Linked DNA regions of Homo sapiens: regions 1, 2, 3, 4 and 5 are each linked to region 6. The links are contacts of gene promoters, found by promoter capture Hi-C in blood cells and fetal thymus (Javierre and others, 2016). All regions are on one chromosome and are shown on one strand. The core of a region is centred on a gene start or on the middle of the fragment in contact, and the rest is flanking DNA. Distances in the headings are between cores, read along the strand shown.

Region 1 (4,160 bases), core at 782-3,281, 380 kb before region 6:
CTCTCTCTGATTTCAGTCCCAGAAATCAAACCAGTGAACACATCACTATGCAGAGTCACATTCCATGTTTTTAATGGAAGTTTTAGAAGCTACAGATGAATTTAGGAGTGATATTAAACCAAGACCATTAAGAAAGATGACTTTTTTCTAGGATTCTAACTCCTATATTCAGACACACATATCCAACTGCCCACTTGACATCTCCACTTGGCTGTCTGTCTCATAGACATTTCAAACTCACTATATCCCAAACAAAAGTCTTAGTATCTCCCCTCCACCCCAAATTGCTGTACTCACAGCCCGCCCCATCTCAGTCTGATGGCATTTCTATTCTTACTACACTTAGGCCACTTCCTATTTTCCTTAACTCCTCTCTTTTGCTTATTATTTTTCAATCCAACTGCCAATCTTGCTGGTTCTACCTTCAAAATAACCAGACTCTAATTACTCCTCAACATCTTTACTGCTAACCCTTGTCCATGGCACCAGCATGTCTCACTGGAGTATTTCAATAGCCTCCTAACTGGTCCTTCTCTTCCACTCTTGTGCTCCCACAGTCTATTCTCAATACAGTGGCCAAAGGGAGCTGTTAAATTTAAAGTCAGATCATTGTCTCTTTTTGGATCAAAATCCTCCCCTCACTCCCAGACTCTGGGGGGAAAGCCAGAGTCCTACCATGACCAACATGGCCCTCCAGGATCTCACCTCCAAATTACTGGCTCCATGTTACTCCTTGAATACTCCAGGCATGTTCCGCTTCTGCGTCCTCAGGCTTTCCCCATGTGGCTACATGGTGAATTATCTCACCATTTTCTCCATGACAGCTGCCCTTACCAGCTCACCTACACCCATCCTCCACCACTGTGCTCTGCTCCTCCTAGCCCCGCTAGACTTCTTTCTCCACAGCATGTATCCCTTCTAAATTCCTAATATACATCACCTAGTATTTTTTAGATTTATTGTTTTTTGTCCACATCTTTTAACTTGAATATAAGATCCACATGGAAGATACTTAATAAATAAATCTGAATTAAGGGAAAATGCCAAACAAGAAAAACAAAGAGAAAAAACTTTGAAAACATCCAGTGTCCAAAAAAAGGTCTTATGATTTTCTTTTCTTTTTCTTTTCTTCTTTCCTTCTTTCTTTCCTTTCTCTTTCTTTCCTTTCTTTCTTCCTTTCTCTTTCTTTCTCTCTTTTTCCCTCCCTTCCTTCCTCCCTTCCTTCCTTCCTTCCCTCCCTCCTTCTCTCTTTCTTTCTCTTTCTTTTTTTTTTTTGAGACAGTCTTCCTCTGTTACCCAGGCTGGAGTGCAGTGGTGTGATCATGGCTCACTGCAGCCTTGACCTTGACCTGCTGGGCTCAAGTGATCCCCCTGCCTCAGCCTCCTGATTAGCTGGAACCACAGGTGAATGCCACCAAACCTGGCTAATTTTTAATTTTTTGTAGAGATGGGGTCTTCCTACGTTGCCCAGGCTGGTCTCGAACTCCTGGCTCAAGCAATCCTCAAGGCCATCTCGGCCTCCTAGAGTCCTGGGATTACATGCATGAGACATCACACCTGGCCAGGCCTTGTGATTTCTAATAGCAGGACCCATGTATTACATCTCATTTTTTAATTTTAATAATGTTTGTGGCATTTTGAAGAGGAGCAACAACAAAGTAAGCCTGACACTTAGGAGAGGCTGCTGTTTACCCTGAAAAGACCCCTAAGAGTGGCATTCTTGGGGAGGGGTAGAACACTACATCAAGCACAGAGCGTTATCATAGAGGTCCCCACATCTCCCTTTTATCTGGGAGCCAGAGGGATCAGACTCAGAATGTCTGAGTAAAAATTCACAAGAGGCTGCTGGGCACCCCGGAATCTACAAAAAAATGCCATTTCTTTCCAGTGACCATGTCCATTGTCCAGAATATACCTTTCTGAGCTAATGGTACCCAGGAAGTTGACTTAGCATTCAGAATGTGGTTCAGGGGTGTTGGAATCAGTGCTAAGGATGGCTAACCCTTCTGAGGACTGCTTAATCCATGCCGTGGTGAGCCCTGATAATGCATCACAACAGACACTTCACAAAAGATCTTCATCCATACTTACCAATCCACACTCATGTCCACAAGATTCAGGACCTATTTTCCAGGCCAATACTGGGCAACCATTGGAAATTTTTCCTCTCTGCTCCATGAGGACCAGTTCATTGCCCACAACCTTTCTCCAGGTAGGATGGATTAGCTTTCTACCCACAAAATTCCAACCATATGGCTGTGCTGTCTTCCAGGAATTACGTAGAGCTCACTTTGCTGGAGTTCTGGAAGTTCCTCAAATCTTCAATCTGTTACTCTACTCCCATTAGGCACAGATCTGGCCTCTGTAGATCCCAGAGGTGCACCTACTTTCAGATTCCCAAGTCCTTGGGGCCCTTCAACATTTCCCCCTTATGTCACCAGTGTGTAGCCAGGGGCCTTGTTCTGCACCCTCTACCATCATTAATGAGCTACTTTGACCATAGACAAATCACCTAATCTCTCTGGGCCTTAGTTTCCAAATCTAAAAATAAAAGGATATAACTCTCTAAGGTCCCTTCTAGTTGTAAAAAATCCAAGATTATTTTTTTCCTACCTCTTTAAGATTTAAATGATGACAACAGCATCTTTCCTAAACTTTTCCTGAGGCCAGATGTTCCTGGCACTGAAGTAGAGGAAAAAAATAGTTTTTGAATAACCTAACATTTTTGCCTTTTAGAGAAAATTATCCTCTGGCCTTTTTAGTTCCCCTTCCCTTACAGCTACCTCCTTATGGACCCTTAAAGGAAGTCTTTAAAACATAGAGAGGCTGAGGCAGGAGAATTGCTTGAGCCTAGGGGTTCGAGACTGCAGTGTGCCATGACTGTACCTGTGAATAGCAACTGCACTCCAGATGGAGTTCGGCAACATAGTGAGTCTCTCTCTATCAAAAAAAAGTAAACTATTTATCCTTCCTGATTCATCAGGATCTTATAAAAAACATTGTTATTTTCCAAATTATTTTTCTTACATAAAACCTCTTAAACAGTTTTATTCTGATAACTATGCTCATCAGCCTTGACTTTCCTCTGTTTTGCAGGGAAGGCTATTAAATGCTCTGGGGAAGAGGAATAAAAAGCTCAGAGACAGGGCCAGGGAAGGAAGCATGCTGTCCATGTAGGTAAATTCTGCCCTGAGCTTTCACAAGGTGATGGGCATGAAATGGCAGAGGCGAAAGTAGGGAGTGGAGAGAAGGGGAAAAGAAGAGGGAAGAAGAGAAAGTCTGAAAGCATATATTGTTTGCTTAGAAAAAAGTTTTAGGAGAGGTCTGGTGGCAGTTCAAGAATGTTCACTTAGTTAGATGACTTCTAAACTGGGACTTGCCTAAGAAGCCACACTGCAGGGAGGAGGCGGAGGTGGAACAGCAGTTCTCTTCCTTTAGCAGCCCTCCATCTAGCCTTCCGCGTAGCAGGCTGGTGAGGTATTGAGCAGCCCCTCTATTGGCCCCGCACCCAGTTTTCAGAAGTTAAGTTCATTCTACAGGTCTCTAAATGCTTCAAGGACGACCAAATCTATCCATTGTTGGCCTGGAAATCAAAGAAGACATTCCAAATCTTCACCATTCAGTAAAGCAGTGACTTACTGAAAGAATTACAGTTTACTAGCAAACCCCCCAAATGAATCTCTATGTATAATACATGCATAACTTCCTAGTCTGAAGATAGCAGTATTCCAAATAATTGTAGGCTCCAAGATATCACTTAGTGACTTCTAATTTAGGAAACATATGCTCTAGAGAATTCCTCCCATTATACACACACACATACACACACGTATATTTGTGTGTGCGAACACATATCCTACTATAACAAATGACTCTGTTTTTAAGCCACTCTAGGTTACAAAACAATACAATGAGTTAACTTAAAATATGTCATATTAAAATCTGGGCATGAACGCAACTAGAAAGGAAGCCTAATTCATACCAGAAAATATCAAAACAAAGTCTGGTAAGTGTCTAGCTAGTTAGACAGTCTCAAAGCAGTAGCTTCTCATTAGCATTGAGAAATAACAATCTGAGTGGTAATGTGAATACCTACTGTGGAACTGGTACTGGATGTTGTATAAGCTGGGAACAGATGCCTCTTAAATTCAGTTTGTTGC
Region 2 (4,129 bases), core at 82-2,581, 460 kb before region 6:
TCAGCTCACTGCAACCTCCGCCTCCCGGGTTCAAGCGATTAACCTGCCTCACTCTCCTGAGTAGCTGTGATTACAGGCGCGTGCCACCATGCCTGGCTGATGTTTGTATTTTTAGTAGAGACAGGGTTTCACCATGTTGGTCAGGCTGGTCTCGAACTCCTGACCTCGTGATCTGCCCACCTCAGCCTCCCAAAGTGCTGGGATTATAGGCATGAGCCACCGCACCCAGCCTCCTTTTCTGTTATTCACTAAGCCAGGTCATTTGTTCTGGATTTTGCTGACTACAACCCCATGGTTGTGTTTAATAAGTTGCTTTCTTCCCTGTACTTCCTGTAGGTTGGGTGTTAGATCTAGAGGTTTAATCGGATTTGATTTGTGTTTTTGGCAAGAACACTTTATAGGTGGCATTGTATACTTCTGTAGGAAGGCATTTTGCTTATCTCTTTTTTTGTGATGTTAGCAGCAATTAATTATCACTGTCTAGAATATTTTCTTTCTTCATTTTTGATCACCCCTCAACCCAACCATCAAGTTACACACCCCTTCAGACCCCCTCCTCACACCAACTCTCTCCTTTGTACTGTTTCAACTGATTAGAAAATGATTTACTTGAGGCCGGGTGTGGTGGCTCATGCCTGTAATCCCAGCACTTTGGGAGGCCAAGGCGGGTGGATCACCAGAGGTCAGGAGTTTGAGACCAGCCTGGTCAGTATGGTGAAACCCTGTCTCAACTAAAAATACAAAAAGTAGCCAGGTGTGGTGGCGCATGCCTGTAATCCCAGCTACTCTGGAGGCTAAAGCAGGAGAATCACTTGAACCTGGGAGGTGGAGGTTGCAGTGAGCTGAGATTGCGCCACTGCACTCCAGCCTAGGCAACAAGAGTGAAACTCCATCTCAAAAAAAAAAAAAAAGTAAAGAAAAAGAAAATGGTTACTTGGTTCTAAATTCATTTCACAGATACAGTCTCCATGGGAAATAAACAGAATGCTCATTAACCTTCAGTGTATGTACATAGAGTTTTCTAAGTTCCCACTTACAGCAGCTATTTTTGGCTGTGTCCTGTTTTAAGTGCTGGTAGGGCCTCCTCCCACTATAGGGGCTGATCAGCCACTCACTATTTGAAGCCTGGGTGTTTTCTGGGGAGCTCTTTCTCCTCATCATAATGAGGACACTCTTGTCCTTTGGCCTTCAGGTGATGTATTAGGAAGTTATTAGAGCTGCAGTGGCCCTCTTCTGACCATAGAGGCAAGCTTTAGGATTAAAACCGATGTGCCCAGGATGATGGGTTGAAATGTGGAAAGAGTCTAGGTCCTCAGTAAGACACTGAGTCACTGAATTATTAAATAGGAGAATTGGAATTTGTGAATTTTCTCTCTTGCAACAAAACAGTTCCCGAGTTTCAGACTGAATGTACAAGCTTAGCAAGCAGAGCCAACCTGCAAATGCCCTACCTCCACACTTCTTATTCTAGGGGATTATGAATTTAATCTACTTTAGTTGATTACTTGCAGCTGCAAACAACCAAGCAGACACAGTGATTAAATACAAATAAATCTATTCTATGTTTCTGTTTACTATATATTTAAAGCTTTGATGGAGAGAAGAAGCCAATGGAAACTGACCTTGAGTTTTCCATAAAACTGAACTCTTCCTTGATGACCCTAATAGAGCTAAAACTATGATTGAGATTGCACAAAGCATTGAATCATCAAAAGTAACGTATTATGATGTCATATATTAAATAAACTCAGCTTTTGGTAGGATATAAGTTGAAAAAGCACACAGCAACTTAAAAGTGGAGATGGAGGCTTAGAAACTTCTATGTTGGTGAGAGGAGGTGGAATTAGAATATTTTCCAAGGATTATTCTCAAAGCACATAACTGAGAATTGACTTTGAGTGTTGGCAATAAAGGAAGACTTTTCTCCTATTACGATATGCTAGACATAACATTCTTATTAAAGTAAGGAGGAGAATTGGAGTTTCTGAATCTCCTCCTTTGCAACAAAACAGCTCCCCTGTTTCAAATTGAATGTACAAGATTAGCAAGCAGAGAGATGAAGATTTAAGAAAAAAAGTATGGGCTGGGTGCAGTGGCTTACACCTGTAATCCTAGCACTTTGGGAGGCCGAGGCTGGAGGATGGCTTGAGTCTAGGAGGTCAAGACCAGCCTGGGCAACATAGCAAGACCCTATCTCTACAACAAATACAAAAATTCACCGAGTGTGGTGGCGTGCACCTGTAGTCCTAGGGACTTGGGAGGCTGAAGTGGGAGGATTGCCTGAGTCTGGGAGGTCAAGGCTGCAGTGTGCTGTGATGGTGCCACTGCACTCTAGCTTGGACAACAGAGCGAGACCCTGTCTCAAAAAAAAAAAAAAAAGAAAGAAAAAGAAAAAAAGTATGATGTTCAAAATCTATTTAAGAGGGAGCCATAGAGCTTGAGAAAGCAGAGGATAGCTGATGATCTGCCCTGTTCTTGCTCCTGCTTCTTATATTTTGCATTCCCACATTGTGTTGTATGGAAGCAAAACATCATTGTTTTACTGGTGAGTAGATTGCACCTTTCTCCTTGCAGACAAGGTGGTGACAGCAACCGGTTCCAGGAAGCCCCTGGTAACAACCCTTCTTTGTGTTGTGTGAGGAAGCTATGGCTCATAAGTGACCTCAGCAGATTTCCCACCCACTACGCTGGGTCCCTCAACTCACAGAGACTCATTGTTAAGGGCTTTCACTCTGAACAGCTGCTGGCGCTTGCTGGCTTCATTCACTATGAAGATGGTGATCAAACACCCCAGATTTCAAATAATCTGTCCTATGATCAGACCATGGGTCAGCCCATTTGCCCTGGTGTCTGATTAGGAAAGTATGATCACTGTCACCATAGAACAACGCCTCCCAACTTCTCTACCCACTTGGATGTTTTCCCCACTCACTTCATTGTTTTGGATATCACTTTAGATTGTGGCCCTTCTCTTTCTGCCAGAAGCAAAATTCCCCCATGTGTCTACAGTAGAAATGCCCTCTCTTCAGGGATCATGCCTGAAATTCCATTTCGTCAATTAAAATTAGACAAAGTATGGCAGGAGCCTAGCTCCCTTTGAAAAGCTACCTACCTAATCAGTATTCCAAGTGATTTAAACGTCCATTATCACAATAAAGTTCAAAGCCTTTAAAGATGCATGAAGTGATGCATTCAAGCAGGTGAACATTACTTGTCTTGGAAAAGTCACTGGAGGGTGGAAGGCAGGGTTAGGGTTCAGCTTTTGAGATTAGATAAGAGCAAAGAGCAACTTCAAAACTCCCTGGGGGCAGGCTTGCTGTCACCAGTGGTGGGGCAGGCAGTGGGCTTACTGTTCTCTCTGACACTGTGGCTTGTGTGACCAGGGCACAGAATATGTCAGAATCTTGGGTATCTTCTATGGTACTTAGCCCCGTGAGTCAGATACACCAGAGGTGCTGAGGGGATGCTTGTAGACTCGCTTTTACAGATAACTTTCACGTAGATCTAATGTGTGTGGCACACCAGATCGATGCATTTGCAACCACCTTCCTGGTCCACAGCGTCAAAACATGCCTGAAATGCCAAGAAGAATGTTTGTATTTGAGCATAATTTTTCAGGGAGGCAGTGCTTTGATTTTCCTGATTTTTTTGTGTTTCATTTTTTTAACCTGACTATGTAGCAAGAATATTAGAAATAAAATTTAGGAGAGGATAGACAATCCTTGGGTGTATGGAGACAGGGAATGGCTCCCGGCAGCTGAATAAATAGCATGCATGTATCTGGCTTTCTGGGCCCTACCCAAGCCTTTTTACAACTACCAGGTGTTTTATAGACACATTTTTCTATGAAGTAGTCAAACTGTAAACAGCATGAATCCTGAATGATAATCGTGTCTTAATAATAATAAAAGAAAGAAAATAAGAGACAAGCATCACGATTTTCCCAATTGAAATGTCTTTTGGTTTTGCCTTTGGTGGCACAGGGTCAAGGGTGTGGGGGCATTTGTGTGGCATTCACTATTCTTTCAACCTGTCCTGATTATGGAACCCTTTAAGGTCCGTCCACTTGGAACCACGGTGCTCTGAGAGGACGCTGAACTCACAGCAGCCCACACACAATTCCAGTGAT
Region 3 (4,115 bases), core at 116-2,615, 420 kb before region 6:
CTTGGCTCACTGCAACCTCTGCCTCCTGGGTTCAAGCGATTCTCCTGCCTCAGCCTTCCAAATAGCTGGGATTACAGGCATGCGCCACCACACCCGGCTAATTTTGTATTTTTAATAGAGATGGGGTTTCTCCATGCCTCAGGTGATCCCAGCCTCAGGTGATCGACTTGCCTCAGCCTCCCAAAGTGCTGGGATTACAGGTGTGAGCCACTGTGCCTGGCCCATTAGTGTTCTTAACCTGCAACATCTGTCCATCTTTCAGAAAGAGAAGCTAAAGCTGAGGATTAAGCTTTCAGATTATTTTTTCAGTAATTAAACTGTAGGACAGGGCTGAGTTATCACACATAACCATGGTCAACATTTTGACATACAGCCCAGGGAAGTTTCACATGCAAACAGATACAAAACTGTGGATAAACACTGCTGCTTGCAAAGAGCTTGTGACAGCAGTATAGGTGTCCAGTTGAGTGTGTGGACAAGGGCCTGCACTGGACTGTATCTTCCTTCCATCAAGGAAAGCACATTATTAAACATCATGGAAGAGAGAAGGACTAACACTATTTCCATTAAATAAGAGAAGTGGACATTGAAGAATACAATTCTTCAAGGTTTCCACTAGTGGATTCAGGAATAGGTCTAGACTGTCCAGCCTCCTTCAACAGAGCCCTAGGCTCCCTCTTGCAGTGAGGAGAACCACAGGCCTCTGTCCTAGAGGTCAGCTCCTCTGGCCTCATACCAGGGACCATGATTCAGATGGCTATTGGAGGGCTTGGAGGGCTGAGGGATTAGAGGGAATATATTATAACCACATTCGTTTTGTGGGCATTTTGACTTACAAGTCAGACTGTGTCAAGAGTTAAATACCTTAGTTCCTTTTTTTTTTTTGAGACAGAGTCTTGCTCTGTTGCCCAGGCTGGAGTGCAGTGGCACAATCTCAGCTCACCGTAACTTCCACCTCCTTGGTTCAAGTGATTCTTGTGCCTCAGCCTCCCGAGTAGCTGGGACTACAGGCATGTGCCACCACACCTGGCTAATTTTTGTATTTTTAGTAGAGATGGGGTTTTACAATGTTGTCAAGGCTGGTCTTGAACTCCTGGCCTCAAGTGATCCACCCGCCTCAGCCTCTAAAAGTGCTGGAATTACAGGTGCGAGCCACTGCGCCCGGCCATAGTTCCTTTTTGAAAGCAGTGCATTCTCACTCGCAGCACTTTGCCCGGTAACAGAACAACATTCAAAGGCCTTATCTAGGTCTTTCACTTTTCCTTTTTCCTCCCAAACCAGTAGTCCACCTAACTCTGATCCTTCTTCTTCCTTCTCTACTCATTAGGTATTTCTCCCAGAAAGTTCCCTGAAGCACTTCTAATCCTTTACTTTGCAAAGATTCTGCCTCATTATTCACTTGTTGACAAAGATCCATCTGGTGATTTTGGAAGGTCAGTCTATTTCCTGTTCCGTCCAAATGGGATCTGTAGTCTAGGATGAATCTTGGGGACATCTGGCAGGCAAAGGAAGGGTCTAGGAATGTGAGGAGACAGGCTTAAGATCTACTTATTAATTGCCAGTAGAATTCTAGTCATGGATTATTTTTTGTCCTGTTGTAAATGTTAATAAGTAGCTTTGTTCCAGAAAGTACCTCAGACTTAGGTGGGTTGATAACTGAAGTTGTGACCTCATTTTCTTTCTCTCTAAGCTCCTAATAATTGTATCTTACACTTGAATTACACTTTCCAGACAACAAAACATTTTACAGGCATTATCTCATTTGAAGCTCATGACAAACTTGTGAGGTCAATAGAACATGTATTATCATCTCCATTTTAAAATGAAGAAAACAAGGCTTGGAGATGGTACAGGATGGATGTGCCAGGTCTTGAACCCACAGCTTTTGATTCCAAGGCTAGGGCTCTTTCCATATTTTATGCTGCCTCCTCATCTGTGGTGCCAGGAGCAATGGGTTAATCTCCAGAAAGTGTTGTGAATAATGCAGAGAATTGCTGCTGTGTATGTCTTGGACAAAGAATTATTATACTGGCTTCTTGCAGCATTAGAGGGGAACCCAAGCCAAAGCTGCGGCCTACAGGGAGTGATACAGTCCCTTATTTTGCTAGCTTTGCAGCTGTTGTTAACCAAAAAATAAAATAAAATAAAAATTGAGTGGTGAGGGTAGGGTTGATTATTAGGCCATAAACTGTTCCTCTCCATGGTAGATAGCCTTTTTTTACTTACTGTCCAGTATTGGTGCACTTCTGTCATTGGTGACCGTCTTCTTTAGTTTCTTCCCTTTGCTGATATCAGAAAGGAGAGCATTTCTCCCAGCCTGCTCTGTCTTATTCAAGGTAGGCTTCTCTGTATTGGCCTGAAAGGGAGCCATACAAACAAGTAGTCATCTCTTGGGTTAAAATCATGCATTGTAACACTCGGCTGGGAAAGGTTGGGTACGGGAAGCTTGTTGTTAAGGTTCTTGGTGATAGGTTGTAAATTCTCGACAAGTTTTAGACCCCATATCTTTCTTTTTAAGATCCAGACGTTTGGAAGCAGATGCAGCAATAAATTATGTTCATTTTTAAGGGAGGAAGAGTCAGTCCTTGATTAAAGTCTCTGAAAATTCAGACCACAATCTGACTGAAACTAACAGGGCCAGGTTAGGGTGAGATGACTAGACACGAGAAAAGAATTTTAAGTCTGGGAGGATTCTGCAGGACATTACCAGACGTCATTCACTAGAGGGTACCCTGAAGAATAACTTCCTTTTCCCATCTTTTAGAACTACCCCAGTGCAAGGGAAAAACTGTCTCTAGCAAAAAGAGTCAGCTGTATGTTTTTTAAACCCACTAAAGTTCTAGAAAATAATTCCCTCTGTGTATATTGCCAAAGATGCTTTTTTTCTCTTTTTAAGTCAGATTTATTAAGGTGTAATTTACACATAGTGAAATCACCCTTTTTAGTTACAGCTCTATGAGTTTTGACAAACATATACAGTTGTGAAACCACCGTCACAATCAAGATATAGAATATTTTCATTACTTCAAAAGTTCCCTCATGTCCTGTTGGCATGAGGTGTTTCTGATGTTTAATTCTGATGAAAGCTTAGCTCATGGAAATTGTGGAATGGACAAAAATGCTGCTTTAACATGTCTGATTATTTTCTTATATTTCCAGAATTCCTAGGAAAGATCCCTACCTACTATGAAATTGGGATCTTGTTCCTTCAGGGAGTTGGGGACACTAAGAGACCAGCAAATGGACTTAGATGTAGGCACCTGCCTGTGTGCCTGTGTCTATCACACTTGGAAACTGGCTAGGTCTTGTCTGTCTCAGGGAGAGTCTGGCTGCCCCAAACCCACAGGTCCTTTCTAGGCTGGCCCCAGCCCTTCTGACAGGGATATGATTTCAGATTTGCCAGTTAGGGCCACAGGAGGAAAAGCTGGGGAAATGTATGGCTCAATACCTTACCCAGCCTTTAAAAAACAATTTTTTTTTAGAGACAGAGTCTCATTATGTTGCCTAGGCTGGAGTGCTGTGGCTATTCACAGGTGTGATCATCATGCAATACAGCCTCGAACTCTTGGGCTCAAGTGATCCTCCTGCCTCAGCCTCCTGAGTAGTTGGGATTACAGGCACGAGCTACTGCTCCTGGCCTAACTCAGCCTTTTATTAGCAGAGTTAGAGGCAAAGGAAGAACTCAGAAAAACCCTGAAGTAGGCTAACCAGAATTGCAGTGGTAAAGTTGGAAGCATCTTGAAATAACTAAATGATGAAGTATTACTTGCTTATGATAATAATAGTTAACATATACTCTGTGCCAGGCACTGTTTTCAGCACCTTATGTGTATTACTTCATTTAGCCCTTATCAACCCTGTGAGTTATTATTTCCATTTTACAGACAAGGAAACTGAGGTATAGGGAGTTTAAATCATTTGCCCCAGGCACCTAGTTAGTTGAGGAGGAGCTGGGATTCAAACCCTGGCAGTCAAGAGCCTTCCCTACAAGCTGATAGAAGGATAAATGTGGGCTCTAAAATGCCCCTCCCCATCCAGCCCCAACACACCGCTGAAGCATGCTTGTTAAAAGTTTCTCTGCTGTCCTTCCAGAAATGCTCTCTGCATACACAGTT
Region 4 (4,461 bases), core at 1,511-4,010, 340 kb before region 6:
CATCTATGGGGATCAGGGCCACAGCTGAGGCTTTGTGAGCAAGGTGGTGCTCTAGAAAAAGTCACTTTCCTGACCTGAATTTAGGAGTAAATGCCCTGTGCCTCCAGTTTACAAGTTACCAGATAACTGCGACCCAAACCTCCAAGGGGTGCAGAGGAGAAACACAGGTAAAGGTTTCACTTGGCAGAGAAGGAACCAATAAAACATTTTCCCCTTCAAAGCTCTTGGCTGATGTTTCAGCCAGCCATTAATAGTCTTCATTTTAACAGACCAGAGAGAAAGATTACAATAAATGTGGGAACATTATGGTCCCCTCCACGCATTCCCCTTCCCCCCACCCCGCCGCCCCCTGCAAGTTTCCTCAGGCCTGAAGTTTCCTGGGGAAAAAGGCAAAGTGGCCTTTGGCCTCAGGAGAGAAGCAGTTCACTTTGTGTTTATCAGGATTTTTCTGTGAAGTTCCCCAAACCCACTGGCACGCCCCTGCCATAGCATGGGAAAGCAAATTGCACGAGGGATTCCAGATATGAAAGTCACTGTGGGAGGAAAACAGAGGAACACGCATGCAGGTTTTTTATCTTTTTCCATTTACCACCACCAAGCTCTTCTGTTTCGGGTGAGCTCAGCAGCACTAGTGCCTTGGATAATCTAGAAATTGCTTCCATATGCGGGCACAGGAAAGAATGTGCGCACTGGCTGCCTGAGAAGGAAGCTCTGGGCAGCCTCTCTTTCCTGCCAGAAAACATTGCTCAGGCCTGAGAGCCATAGAGCGTTGGAGCCAAAGGAGATCAGAGGAAGCAGCACTAACCTTCCCAATTTATGGATAAGGAAACTGAGGCCCAAGGTCACACATACAGCGACAGAGCTGGCAGTAGAACCTGGGGCTCTCTGGCTCTATCCCTAAGTCAGGTACTGTCTTTCCCTCTCCTCCCTGCAAATCCCTGCCTCCCTCACCAGCCAGCACACCCTTCTCTCCTCTCTGTCCCTCTGTCCCTCTCTCTCACACACACACACACACCCCAAGTGCTTGAATGAAGGGCTTCAATCTAATTTAGTGTAGCAGTATGACTGGTCTGGGTCTGAAGCGCCAGGCCTTGGGGCAGGACAACCAGAACAGAGCTTGCTTTTGAGAAAGCCAGCGCAGGGAGTGCGGAGGAGCTCGTTCACTCTCTGCACTGGGACCTGTGCCAGGGTCTCCAGGGCCCCAAGACCACTCCTCAGCCTCAATGCCCCCTTAGTGCTGGGTTAGTCCAGGACTTGAAACAAAGACTCCATTTAGGATCCAACAGAGAGTGGTCTGCAAGCACCCTCATCTCTACAGAAACCTACCACACAGAAACTTGGGGTGATTTAAGCCTGAATCACACCATCTTGAACTGCTGACCCAAGTGGGAAAACTCAGTGCAGTTTCAAATGAGCAGTAGGGGAAAACCAAGAATGCCCTCTCTTGTGTTCCGTGGTGGCCAGTGTCGGGCTCGGCCCACACCACTTTGACTTCTTGTCTCTAGGCCAAGAGCCAGGGCAAGCTGTCCCAGGGCCCACTTACAAGTCAAACCAGACAAACCTCAACCTTTAAAAGCTTGCTCTAGGAGGACCTGAAACCCAGATGGGGTCTGCAGTTCTGCTACATAACCTGAACTCTTCTGGGTCTTCCTTTTTCTCATTTTTAATTTTTAAATAGAGACAAGGTCTTGCTATGTTGCCCAGGCTGGTCTCAAACTCCTGGGCTCAAGTGATCCTTTCGCCTCGGCCTCCAAAAGTGCTGGAATTACAGGTATGAGCCACCGCGCCAGGCCTGGATCTTTCTTATCTAAACCATCATATCCCATATTATGTTAATGTTTTATTAACATTAATAATATTATATTAACAATACCACTATAGAAATTGATTACCAGTCTAGTTGCAAGTACAAGTATTCTCAGGTAACACTGTCTTTCAATACAGATTTATTGAATACTTATTACAGAGGAGACAGAGGAGAGGCAGACCGAGGGTATAACGCTGCATACATCCCTATAATATGGTTTCTCCTTTCAGAGAACTCAGAATGAAGGGGCCTCAGGTTACCTGCATCATTCTGGTTTTTTGCTCCTGTTTTACTACGAAGCAAACACCTCGACTATAAGCCGCCATAGACCAGGGTCTGTGTCTCATTCGTGTCTGGACAATGCATCACAGACACTCAACTGTTTTCTGCCTGAGCAGAATTAAGACTTGGCCTCCTAACTCCTCCATCACCATCTTCTCCACTCTCTTCCTTGGCCTTCATCACCAACACCACCTCATCAACCGTGAAAGATTCAAAGAGTAAGGAAAACCATTTCTAGGACCATGAAATGTGTCACTGGATCTCCTGCAGAAATCTGCCAGAGCTACAATGTGACTGGTTTCTACATGTCTGACAAATTTCTATTTAAATAAGTATTTTTCAAAATGCAAATTGCTACCTATTCTTTGGCCATCAAATCACTTTAGTGGGTTGCAACCGGCTTTTTCTTCTTAATAGAAAAGGAAATGTGTTGCATTTGGTAAACATGGAAATTGTTTTATAAAACTTTTGTTTTTGTTTCTGTTTATCTATCCTGTATACACTGGGTCTCAATGAAAAATGTATTTCTTACTGTAGGTCATAACCAAAAAAGGTTTCAGAACCCTGGTTTAGACAATGTGTCTTTCTACAATGGACTCTGCTCAGAGAGGCTCATTTGTAGATACTGCATGCAGACACCGTCCCACTTCATGTCTGTCATTCAAGTGGAGGAATGGGGCTCTACTCTGAGCATGCTTCTTTTGCTGTTGTTTAAACTCTAACCCATACCACTTGTAGCCTCTTAAATTTTCTCTCTTAAAAATATTTTGGGCCAGGTGCAGTGGCTCATGCCTGTAATCCTAGCACTTTGGGAGGCTGAGGCAAGAGGATCACTTGAGCCCAGGAGTATGAGACCAGCCTGGGCAACACAGTGAGACCTCATCTCTACAAAACTGAAAAACTTAGCCAGGCATGGTGGCATGTGCCTGTAGTACCAGCTACTTGGGAAGCTGAGGCAGGAGGATTCCTTGGCTGCAAGTGAGCCATGATTGTGCCACTGCACTCCAGCCTGGGTGACACAGTGAGATCTCATCTCAAAACAAACAAACAAAAATTTAACTCTGGCAAGAGTTGAAGGTATCCACCACTGTCTATTTTGCCAGCCCCAGGAATCTATACAATGTAAGGTTCCTTGCCTATGGCCTCCAAATTAGGACTGAGTTTATTCCTACAGTTTTTCTGTCTTGGGTCCTTTTGATGTACCTCAGGGGGTAAAAAAGGAGGAACTCACTGGACTGTCTTATGCAACCAGGGTCAGTTATGGCACACCCTGCCCTCTAGTTCCTCAAGCAAGCAAGCCATTACTGGTTTCATGAGAGTTCATTAGTTTACATTGGAGCTGGGACAGTAAGTTTAGAAGGTAAAGCCCATTCTGCACCCAGCTCAGTGCCTGGCCTACCTGCCACAGGCCCCTCCACATTCCTTGACCACTAAGAAGGAGAGCTGGAAGCCACTTTCTGCATCATCCAGGTTTAAGGCAATAGCCTGCACATGCCCAGGGGCCTGGCTTTGCAGGAAGCTGGCTGATGCTGACACAGAATGCTCGGTGGTGGGATGTGCCTCTAAAACTGCCATTTTAATCAAGGACAAGGCAGGGAGACCACAGACATGGGAATCAGAAACTTCTCAATTTGAATCCTAGCTCTGCCTCTAGTTTCTTGTTTAATTCTAGAAGGGTCCAGGCTCACATCAGAAAAACACAAAGAGATCCCTTTGCCCTCTGACTAAGAACAATGTCCCATGGATTTGAGGCTGGAAGGGCCCCATGGGCTTGGAGCAGCTGCACTCCCTGAAAACCTTGCTGTATCAGATCGGGTTTAAGAATGCAGTTGGTTTTGTTTTAGCTTCTGCTCCTCTAAGCTTTTTATTTTGTCCTTCTCTGGACTTGAAAAGAAGACCAGATAAACTGCCAGCACAGAGCTCACCACTGGGGCTGACAGTGAGCGAGGCCCGAAGGGAGGGAAGGAATAAAGCATTTCCCACCCTCGAACAGTCTACCAAGTACGGCACCCTCTTCCTGGGACTGGTCGAGGTCTCTGCAGGAATTGTAAAGAATTCCCCTCAAGTTTCTTTGGCCTTATAGTTTCAATTCTCCCAAAATGCTCTTCCTGTGGGTGGGATCATGCAAGATCAGGGCTGAAATCAGTCCTAGGCCAATGACACTTTACAACCCTTTCCACCTCCACCCCCGTCCCTGGGCTGTTTTGAAGTGTCTAGCTCAGAGGTGGGAACACAGTTCTGGACCTCTTCCAGCCCTAGGTTTCTGTCTCTATCTGATAAAGAGCTGATCTCCTCTCCAGTCTTGCCTGTGAGGATCCCTGGTCATTGTTTTGCAGGTACAAAGGTAACCTGTGGTCAACTTTCAGCTCTGA
Region 5 (4,082 bases), core at 34-2,533, 320 kb before region 6:
TTCATTTTACAAATGAGAAAACTGTGACTCAGAGAGCTTAGGTAACCTGCCCAAGACCACTCAGCTTGTGACCTTCTAAATCCAGATTATTTTGATGCTAACACCCTTGTTTTAACCACTATTTAATACTGTCTCTTGGCTTTACTTCCTATTATTGTTCCCTCTTTTGAGCTTCTGCTGGTGTGAATGACCTGAATTGACTGGCATCCAGATTCCTTGGTGCCAAATAGCAAAATAAAAAAATATTGTTTCTATTGTTGGAAGGAATTGTTGAGGTTCAGGTAGATCTGGCTAAAGGCTGTTTAACAGCCTGGGTTTTCTCTTCTGCATCAATGCAGGGAGGAAATGGAATGCTATGTGGGACGACAGCACCATGCTAGGCCAGGGATACTGTGAAGAATCAGGATGTGTTGGGAAGGAAGGAAGGAAGGAAGCTGCTTTGCACCTAAAAAATGCTCAGCATATATTTAATAGATATATCCAAAACTGAAAGGACTGAGCTCTTGAGAGCTAGATATTTTACTTATTTACACTACACCGTATTCCAAAAAAAGACTTAAGACAGTAAGAGTTGAACAAGATAAAATTTAAACTTTAGTCTGAGATAGCAAATTTAGTAAATATTTTCACTTTATCATTTTCTTCCCTTACTAAAAATAGTTCTCATTCTAAACAATTCAAATATTCCATAAGCATAAAATATAGAAAGTGAGTCTCCTGCAATCCCATTCACCAGAGATAACCACTAATGGTAGGGTATATATTCTTCCCTGTGTCTTTTTTTCTATGTATTTTTATTTTTCTTCATCAACAAATATTTAATGAAAGCCAGGTGAATGTGATTATATTGTACATCATCTTCTTCTAATTTATTTTTCTTTTTCCGCTAAATAATCTATTGCATTCATTTCCTGTTGCTGTGTAACAAATTACCATAAATTTAGCAGCTCAAGACAACATCCATTTATTATTTCATGGCTCTGTAGAAGTCAGGACATGGTGTGATTCAGTTCACAGGTATCACAGGTGGGCTGAGTTCTTATGTGGAGGTGCTGGAGAAAATAATCCACTTCCAAGCTCATTCAGGTCACTGGCCCCTGTGAATTCAATTCCTTATGGTAGTGGGACTGAGGACCCTGTTACCTTGTTGGCTGTCACCTGTGGGACTGCTCTCAGCTCCTAGAAGCCACCTGCATTCCTTGCAACATGGCTTTCGTCTTCATAGCCAGCAACAGAGAATCTCCCTCATGTGGAATCCCTCTCATACTTCTAGTCTCTTTTGCCTGGAAGAGCCTAGTTCCTTTTAAGGTCTCAGCTGATTATGCTAGGCCCATTGAAGATAATCTCCCTATCTTAAATGCAGCTCCAATCACATCTACAAAATCCCTTCACGGCAGCATCTAGATCAGTGTTTGACTGAACAAGTGAGAGAAAGTGTGCATACACCAGGGGATGAAAATCTTAGAATTCTGCCTACCACAGGTAACAAGGGTTGTCTTTCCATTTCTCTAAATATAAATCAACCTCATTCTTTTTTAAGAACTGCATAGTCTTTTACTGTATAATGTGTCATAATTCAACCAAAGCGCCTCTTAGTGGACATTTATGTTACTTCCAGTTATATGTCTTTTAAAAATTCATAATAAACACTCGTGCTCTTAAATGCTCATGCATCTACATTCTTCTTAGTATCCTGACTCACAGAAGTAACTTCCATTAGGTAGTCAGAATTGCAAGATGGAAGTGTTTGCACTTTTTGATAGATACTACTAAATTGCTCTCCAAAATGTTGGTAGCAGCCTGTACTTCCAATGACAATATACAAAAACGGAAGTAGCTAATTCTTATAAAGAAATTCCCTCATAGACTGTTTCATGCGCAATGGTTAAGAGCATCAGTGCTCAGTGAGGTTGTCTGGCTACCAATCTTGCCTTTTTGATTTCCAGTGTGACCTAGGGCAGGTATCTAAGCCTTAGTTTCTGTATCTGTAATGAGGACAATAATAATGGCACCCCCCTTTGTATTCATTTTGTGTTGCTGTGTAACAAACTACTCTAAAACTTGTGACTTACACACTTATTGTCTCCTAGTGTCTGTGGGTTAGGAATCTGGTAACTAAGCTGGGTGTTTTTGGTTCAGGATCTCTCACAAGGCTGCAGTCAAGGTGCCAGCCAAGTCTCAAGGCTTGACTGGAGGATGAGCTACTTTCCAGTTCACTTGCATGGCTGTTTCAACATTCAGGTCTTCACTGGCTGTTGGCTGGAGAGAGCAGTTCCTTGCCATGTGGATGTCTCCCTGGGGCAGCTCACAACATGGCAACTGTTTTCCCTCAGAGTGACTGAGCAAGAGGGGACACGTGAGATGGAAGCCACAGTCTTTTTGTAACCTAACTTGAAAGTGACATCACATCACTGTGCTGTATTCTACTCATTAGAAGCAAGTCTCTAAATACAACCCACACTTAAGGTAAGAGTGTGGCACATAAATATGAATATCAGCTCGCCCTGGTGATTGAGGTCATCTTAGAGGCTTCCTTCCTTGCTCTTCACTAAGGGGTCGTGGGCCGAAAGTAAGTTAATGCATGTCAACTAATACAAATAGTGTCTGACTTTAATAAACACTCAAGAAAAGTTCATTGTTTTTGTTGCTACCATGACTATCATCATCATTGTCCAGTACTCTCACCCATGTTCCTGTTAGCATCACATTAGGAACCAAAAAGTGGCTAACTAAAGCTACTGTTTGGATTGTTTGGCAGGCAGTCTCCATCAGGAAACAGAAAGCTTCTCAAATGAGGTGCTATAGGAAGGCTTAGTAAAGAAATTGTTTACAAAGGAGTGTAGGGAAAGGAACAAGGGATGGTGCCACGCTGCAGAGCTAGAACGGCAGGGGGCCATTACCACCCTGGGCCTGAAGAGGAGGGGATGTGAACCAGAACTTGGGGAGGGTGGCTTCAGCTCTAGGAATTGCAGCCCTAGATAAGGCAAGAATGATGACAAGCCATGGTGACCCAGTGGAATGAGGGAAAAAGGGGTAAATACCCTGACTTTATTCCTCTCCTGCCAGCTCGCCCATCATGTGAGCTCACTCAGGAGCCAGAGGACAGGAAACCCACAACGCTGTCCATGCAGATCAGCCTCCCTGGCCTGGAACAGGTGGAGAATGGTGACAGTGGCCTGGAGGGGTGAATGGAAAACATCTGGCTTGGGCAGGCACAGCTCCTCCCTAATGGGACTTTCCTGGGAACAGGATACCATGGTTCCTTCATATAAAAGAGGGACTGAAAGGCAGTTAATCCTGAGTTTCCAGGATTGTGGGCAGGGAGGGGTGGTGACAGGAAGCATACCTCCAGAGCTGTTTGATCCAATCATTGATTCTGGGTCCTCCTTACCTTTGGACCAGTGAGAAAGGTACAGGGGTTTAAACTCATAACTGGCAGATCCAGGGTAGATGTGTCAGGAAGCCCATGTGGGCTGCAGGTTTTATTTTATCTGGAGAATGGACTTAATGACATGAAAGGTGTCTGCTTTGCTCCTGTCTTCTGATGCCTGTCATTGCTCACTGGTCAGGTATGAATGAAGGTGTCCGCTGAAGACCTGAGGGGCTGCCAAAGGCACAAGGTTTTCCAGAGGTTGTTCTCCACCCATAACAAGGATCCAGGAGCCTTACTTCAGGAGAGAACGCAGTGCAGCTGGAGGGCCCGAGGAGAAGTGGAGACAATACAATAGCCAAGAAATGGGTGAACCCAGTTGGCTCAAGGCGGGCCTTTCCCTCCTGATGGCTACATTCACAGGGACTCCCTGTGCAAATTGGAGTGTTTTTGAACAGTTGCTTTCATGCTTTAACCCTGCTGGAGGGGAAGACATGGGAGAGGTCAGGAAAGGTTGCATTTACTTTACTGTGCTAATTGATATTTATCAATTAGCTTTTTTATGCTGTGTGAAGATGCAGTTAAAATATGAGTGATCTGGGGACAACTCTTTTTTTTTTTTTTGAAATGGAATCTCTCTCTGTCACCCAGGCTGGAGTGCAGTGGCATGATCTCGGCTCACTGCAACCTCTACCTCCCAGATTCAAGAGAT
Region 6 (4,133 bases), core at 440-2,939:
CATCACCAAGTAAGAAATGGCACTTCTAGTAATGCACTTGGGCACAGTAAACACAGTCCCAGACTGAAGCCTGGTGAAGTGAATTCTAGGCTCAGTTTTGCCACAAAAGAGCCATGTGACTTTGGGAAACAACCTCTCTGGGTCTAAGTTTAATTTATAAAATAAGATAGTTAAATAAAAGTAACACTTTGATTCTAGCAGCTTAATTCACTGGGAAGTATTTACCTCAAAAAGCATTTGAGGTATGTAACACCTCTAACGTGTTTGATCAAATGACATAATTAAAACTGAACTGGAAACTTGATATTGTGAATAACTTACTTAGGCTGTTCTCGTAGCTATCAATTACATATCATTGTACTTTGCTTCTTCAAAAAAGCTGAATACTTTGAACGTCTAATGTTCACATATTGAGTTTTCTTAAAGTCAGGTACGTATGTACCATAGTCGTTTTGTAAAAGGAAAGAATGTATCTTTTCAGTCCTTTTTCCCAACCCATTGTCATTGCAGACTGAGAAAAAAACAGCTTGAAGTCTTAACCACCAAAAGCAACAGTGCTGCAGTAATTACACCACAAAAATAACATTTCATTCTTAATGAATACTCAGTCTCCTGAGATTACAGTTATCTTCTGGTAACCAACTTTATTCTGTCTGCTCTCATTCGTTAGTGCAAACATTTTCAATTTTAACCCATATTCAGTTCACAAATCATACTTATTTCCAACGGAATATACTGAGTCCAAAAAAAAAATTCCCCAATAGTCCAACAGGAAGCAACACATGCATTTGGCAATTCCAAGGAGGCTGGGGACTCACAGATACCTCGTTCAAAATAAATAAACTTTCCAAGGATTTATTTACCGACGGGAAAGGCAGGTTTGAAAACAACCAGTTAACTTCACTCCCAAGTTGGCATCTTAGAGAATCTTTGTGCGTTTGCAAAACACCCAGGACCTCTGAGCCTCCCAGCCGAGAATTGGCCAGGGGAGCACACGCCCATCGGCCCTGCCGGGAGAGGAAACAATGGGAGAGGCGCGAGGGAGCAAGCCGGCGCCCCGGGCGCCCCAACTCTGCGGCCCCGGCCCGCCCCGACCCCACGCGCCGCGCCCCCTCCCCGGGCGCCCAGGCCCCCCAGGCCCCCGCCCCCGAGCCCCGGGACGCGGCCCACCTGCGGCGGCGCGGGGAGACGGCTGCACTTACCAAACAGGGTCAGGGCCATTGTAAAGGCGCTCGCCGCCGCCCGCGAGTCCAGGCGCTCCTCCCAGGCGGGCTAGGGATCACCTCATCAGCCCGCCGCACCCACACCTCGGAGAGAGTGGGGTGCCCGATGGGGCGTGCTGGGGGCGCCGGCGCCCGGGGAGGCTGCAGGCCGGGACGCGGGGGACCGCTGCAAGAAAAAGTTATTCACGCGTTATTGTCGGGCGCACCGGGCCCAGGGAGCCCCGCTAGCTCTCCGCGAGCCGGCACTTGTCGCTGCCATCAGGCGCGGAGCGTGCGCGCGGGAGGAGGTACCTGCGAGGCAGGAGGCTTGGCCGCGGCGCAGTGGCTGGCGGAGAGGCGGCGCCGCACTGGCGGCGGCGGCGGCGGCGACGGGGAGAGCAGCAGCAGCCTCGCACAGCCCCCGGCGGGGCGCGCTCACTCCGCATCCCGCGGCCTCGCAGACGCCATCTTGCGATAGCGTCTCCCACGAGCTCGGCCGCGCCGCTGCCTCCCGCCTCTCCCTCGGGCTTCCCGGTCGAGTGCGTTCCCATGGCAACGGGCGCGCGCGGGGGTAAGAGGGTGCGCCCTCATTCCCGCGGCTGCGAGGAGCCACCAGCGCCCCCCTGGAGGCGGCCGCCCGGAGCGGGATGGAGCGGGGCCGGTGTGCGTTTTAGCTGAAAGCCCAGGTTTTTTCTTGAATGGAATTTGAGGAGGCGCAGAGAGGAGAAAAACGCTGTTACTCGAAAGAGGAAGAGTCACAGGAGGATGCTGAGTGAACGCAGCGCCCAGGCAGGGTCATCTGGGGACCTGGTGCGTGTGAGAACATATTTCTTCTCCTGGCGCCCTCCAGGCTCACTGTGGCTGGAGCCGGTGACCTGAAGCTGCAGGGCTCTGGTAGGAACAGAGGCACTGAAAGCTGCATTCCTCTCCGTTTGGACTTAGGAGCTGCTAGTAGTTCTGATGAAATTGACACACATTAGGAAAAGGAGTCGCTTAAAAAGCATCTGAGATTACCTAAGATAATTTGTTAAAAGACCAATGCTTACACCTGATTTTCTTCCCTTTACATTATACCTCTTTGATATTGTCTCAAGGAAAAAAAAATCAGCATGTGTCACTGACTGGCACTTATTTGCCACAAAAGATTGTTCCCCTGAGCTTCTTGTATTTATCTGATAATCACTGGCAACGTCCTCCTTTCTGTGATGTTGTCTCCTCACCTCTGTCTCTGCCATGAGGAGCCATACAACGCCTTGAGATTGTCAGCCAAAAGATGTTCTTGAAAAGCTGGGTTATATGTTTTTCGTCGTTGTCGTTTAATGTATTCAAAAAGTCATTCTTCTCTAGTTGCTATATGTGTTCCCTGTTTAAGAAATTCCTTCTTTTTTCTTGTTTCTCTGCTTAGGGATTTGATACTATTTTGGTATCTGATCATGTAGATCTTCTCTTTGGTTCTCCTTTCTTTCTACAGGCGTCTTTCCTCTTAGTTCCTCAGGTTCCCTAGTGTCTTCTCTCCCATTTTCAAATAATTCTTTAAGAATATTATAGAAATATCTTGTATTTAATGTATCTTAGAGATCGAATCCTGATAAAGTGGGAGATTACTACAGTACTTCCAATGGAACCACAGTTAATTCACCATCATTATTTCAAAGCAGACTTAAGCATCAGAAGAAAAGCAGGTTGGAAGGAGGAGCCAAGCCTTTTGTTTCAAGTCAGTTAACTCAGGAAGAAAGAAATATTAAAATGATTCAACATGAATGGGCAAGTGTTTAAGATGCTATATGTTTGGAATTTTGTGATGTAAAATGGCTCTCTTTAGCCACTAATCAAAATACATCTTTAAAATCCCCAGAATTTAAAATCTTTCATGAAAATGGACTCTTGATTTTGAACAACCTTTCTGCTCATAAAAAATTACAAACACACAGCTCATGAAAATAAATGAGAAACTCAAGAAAGCTTTGTGGGATAGATTTTATAACCATATAAAGATTGCTGCTAATCTGCTCTGCAGCCAAATAAATCAGAAACCGAAGACTCCATTTACTGTTTCAACTAGTGGTCTTCAACATTTTTGGACCAAATTTCCTTTTGAGGCTCTAATGAAAATACTGTCCCTCCTCTTAGAAAAGTGCTTGCATACATACACACATTCACCGGAAATTTTTCACATAATTTCAAGGGGATTATGGGCTATTCAGGGACCTTAGGTGAGCCCCTGGAAGTGTTTTTTGTAATCTCAGAAAGTTTTTGCCTTTATAATTTAAAGGAAAATATTTTCCTTCAGAATAGAACCATTGAATTTTGAATAGGAAAAGACCAAAACTCCCATGATTTATAGGTAAAAAAATTGAGTTCCCCGTAAAAAGATTTTCCCAAATGTGTTCACCTATTTAGTAGCAGAACCAATGGGAAAATCTTAGATTTCTGGTGTTCTCACCGACCACCTTCCCTACCCACATCCCGCATCAATTTAGAGGTTGCATGGTTTGAATTTCAAAAGAAAAATCTGTTTAGTATTAGAAGCAAAATAACGAGAGTATTTTGTCCTTAGCCATTCTGCATAGAGTTTGGGAAGTTGCATTTTGTCTCAAAGAGTTTTTATTAACATGCCCTTCTACTCAGAACTATGTGTCCCATCATGCTAAAAGAGAAACAATGCCTTTCTCTCCTCTTTGTTAAGCTCTGTTAGAGCATCAAGGTTTTGGTGCTGCAGCTCAGCTTGCTAGTAGCTCTCTCCATCCCTTGAGGGGTTGTCCTGGGAGTGAGACAGAGAGAAAGGAGCTGCCCTGCACTCAGATTTACCCTCCCATCATACAGCCGGCCTTTGGTTACTAGACCAGCTTTCCACTCACTAGTTTGGCCAAATACAACTGAATCCTAGTGAAATACCCTGCTTAAACTCAAGTGAAGATCCTTTTCCTCTCC

Evidence for each region. Contacts are between HindIII fragments. The CHiCAGO score rates a contact against its expected background, and 5 or more counts as called.
Region 1: a fragment that was not itself captured here is called in contact with the fragment with the promoter of CHN1 in region 6 in 4 of 17 cell types (naive CD4 T cells, total CD8 T cells, total CD4 T cells and 1 more); the score reaches 7.1 in naive CD4 T cells.
Region 2: a contact is called between a fragment that was not itself captured here and the fragment with the promoter of CHN1 in region 6, in 1 of 17 cell types (total CD8 T cells). The highest score is 5.0, in total CD8 T cells.
Region 3: a contact is called between a fragment that was not itself captured here and the fragment with the promoter of CHN1 in region 6, in 1 of 17 cell types (naive CD4 T cells). The highest score is 5.3, in naive CD4 T cells.
Region 4: a contact is called between a fragment that was not itself captured here and the fragment with the promoter of CHN1 in region 6, in 1 of 17 cell types (naive CD8 T cells). The highest score is 5.2, in naive CD8 T cells.
Region 5: a fragment that was not itself captured here is called in contact with the fragment with the promoter of CHN1 in region 6 in 2 of 17 cell types (naive CD8 T cells and M0 macrophages); the score reaches 5.3 in naive CD8 T cells.

Annotation. Positions count from the first base shown.
Region 1 is chr2:174,626,286-174,630,445 of GRCh38, forward strand. It overlaps a transcript of WIPF1 not described here. Among named protein-coding and RNA genes, the nearest start is that of WIPF1, 31 kb to the left of the region's middle. The HindIII fragment of the contact is 4,377 bases long and covers 1-4,160 here.
Region 2 is chr2:174,541,671-174,545,799 of GRCh38, forward strand. LOC124906097 (a long non-coding RNA gene) reads right to left here. Exons shown (of 3, transcript XR_007087309.1): 1 at 3,113-4,129. The region is part of intron 1 of LOC124906096 (a long non-coding RNA gene); the gene reads left to right. Among named protein-coding and RNA genes, the nearest start is that of WIPF1-AS1, 31 kb to the right of the region's middle. The HindIII fragment of the contact is 167 bases long and covers 1,249-1,415 here.
Region 3 is chr2:174,579,084-174,583,198 of GRCh38, forward strand. WIPF1 (WAS/WASL interacting protein family member 1) reads right to left here. Exons shown (of 8, transcript NM_001375834.1): 3 at 2,227-2,356. The region is part of intron 1 of WIPF1-AS1 (WIPF1 and CHRNA1 antisense RNA 1); the gene reads left to right. Among named protein-coding and RNA genes, the nearest start is that of WIPF1-AS1, 5.9 kb to the left of the region's middle. The HindIII fragment of the contact is 2,156 bases long and covers 288-2,443 here.
Region 4 is chr2:174,663,140-174,667,600 of GRCh38, forward strand. It overlaps a transcript of WIPF1 not described here. Among named protein-coding and RNA genes, the nearest start is that of WIPF1, 68 kb to the left of the region's middle. The HindIII fragment of the contact is 2,373 bases long and covers 1,575-3,947 here.
Region 5 is chr2:174,686,679-174,690,760 of GRCh38, forward strand. No RefSeq gene overlaps it. Among named protein-coding and RNA genes, the nearest start is that of CHRNA1, 76 kb to the right of the region's middle. The HindIII fragment of the contact is 2,995 bases long and covers 1-2,781 here.
Region 6 is chr2:175,003,692-175,007,824 of GRCh38, forward strand. It overlaps CHN1 (chimerin 1), which reads right to left and starts at 1,690. Exons shown (of 13, transcript NM_001822.7): 1 at 1,203-1,690. The coding sequence starts at 1,221. RefSeq lists an enhancer at 860-1,406 and a silencer at 1,391-1,450. The HindIII fragment of the contact is 4,598 bases long and covers 1-3,162 here.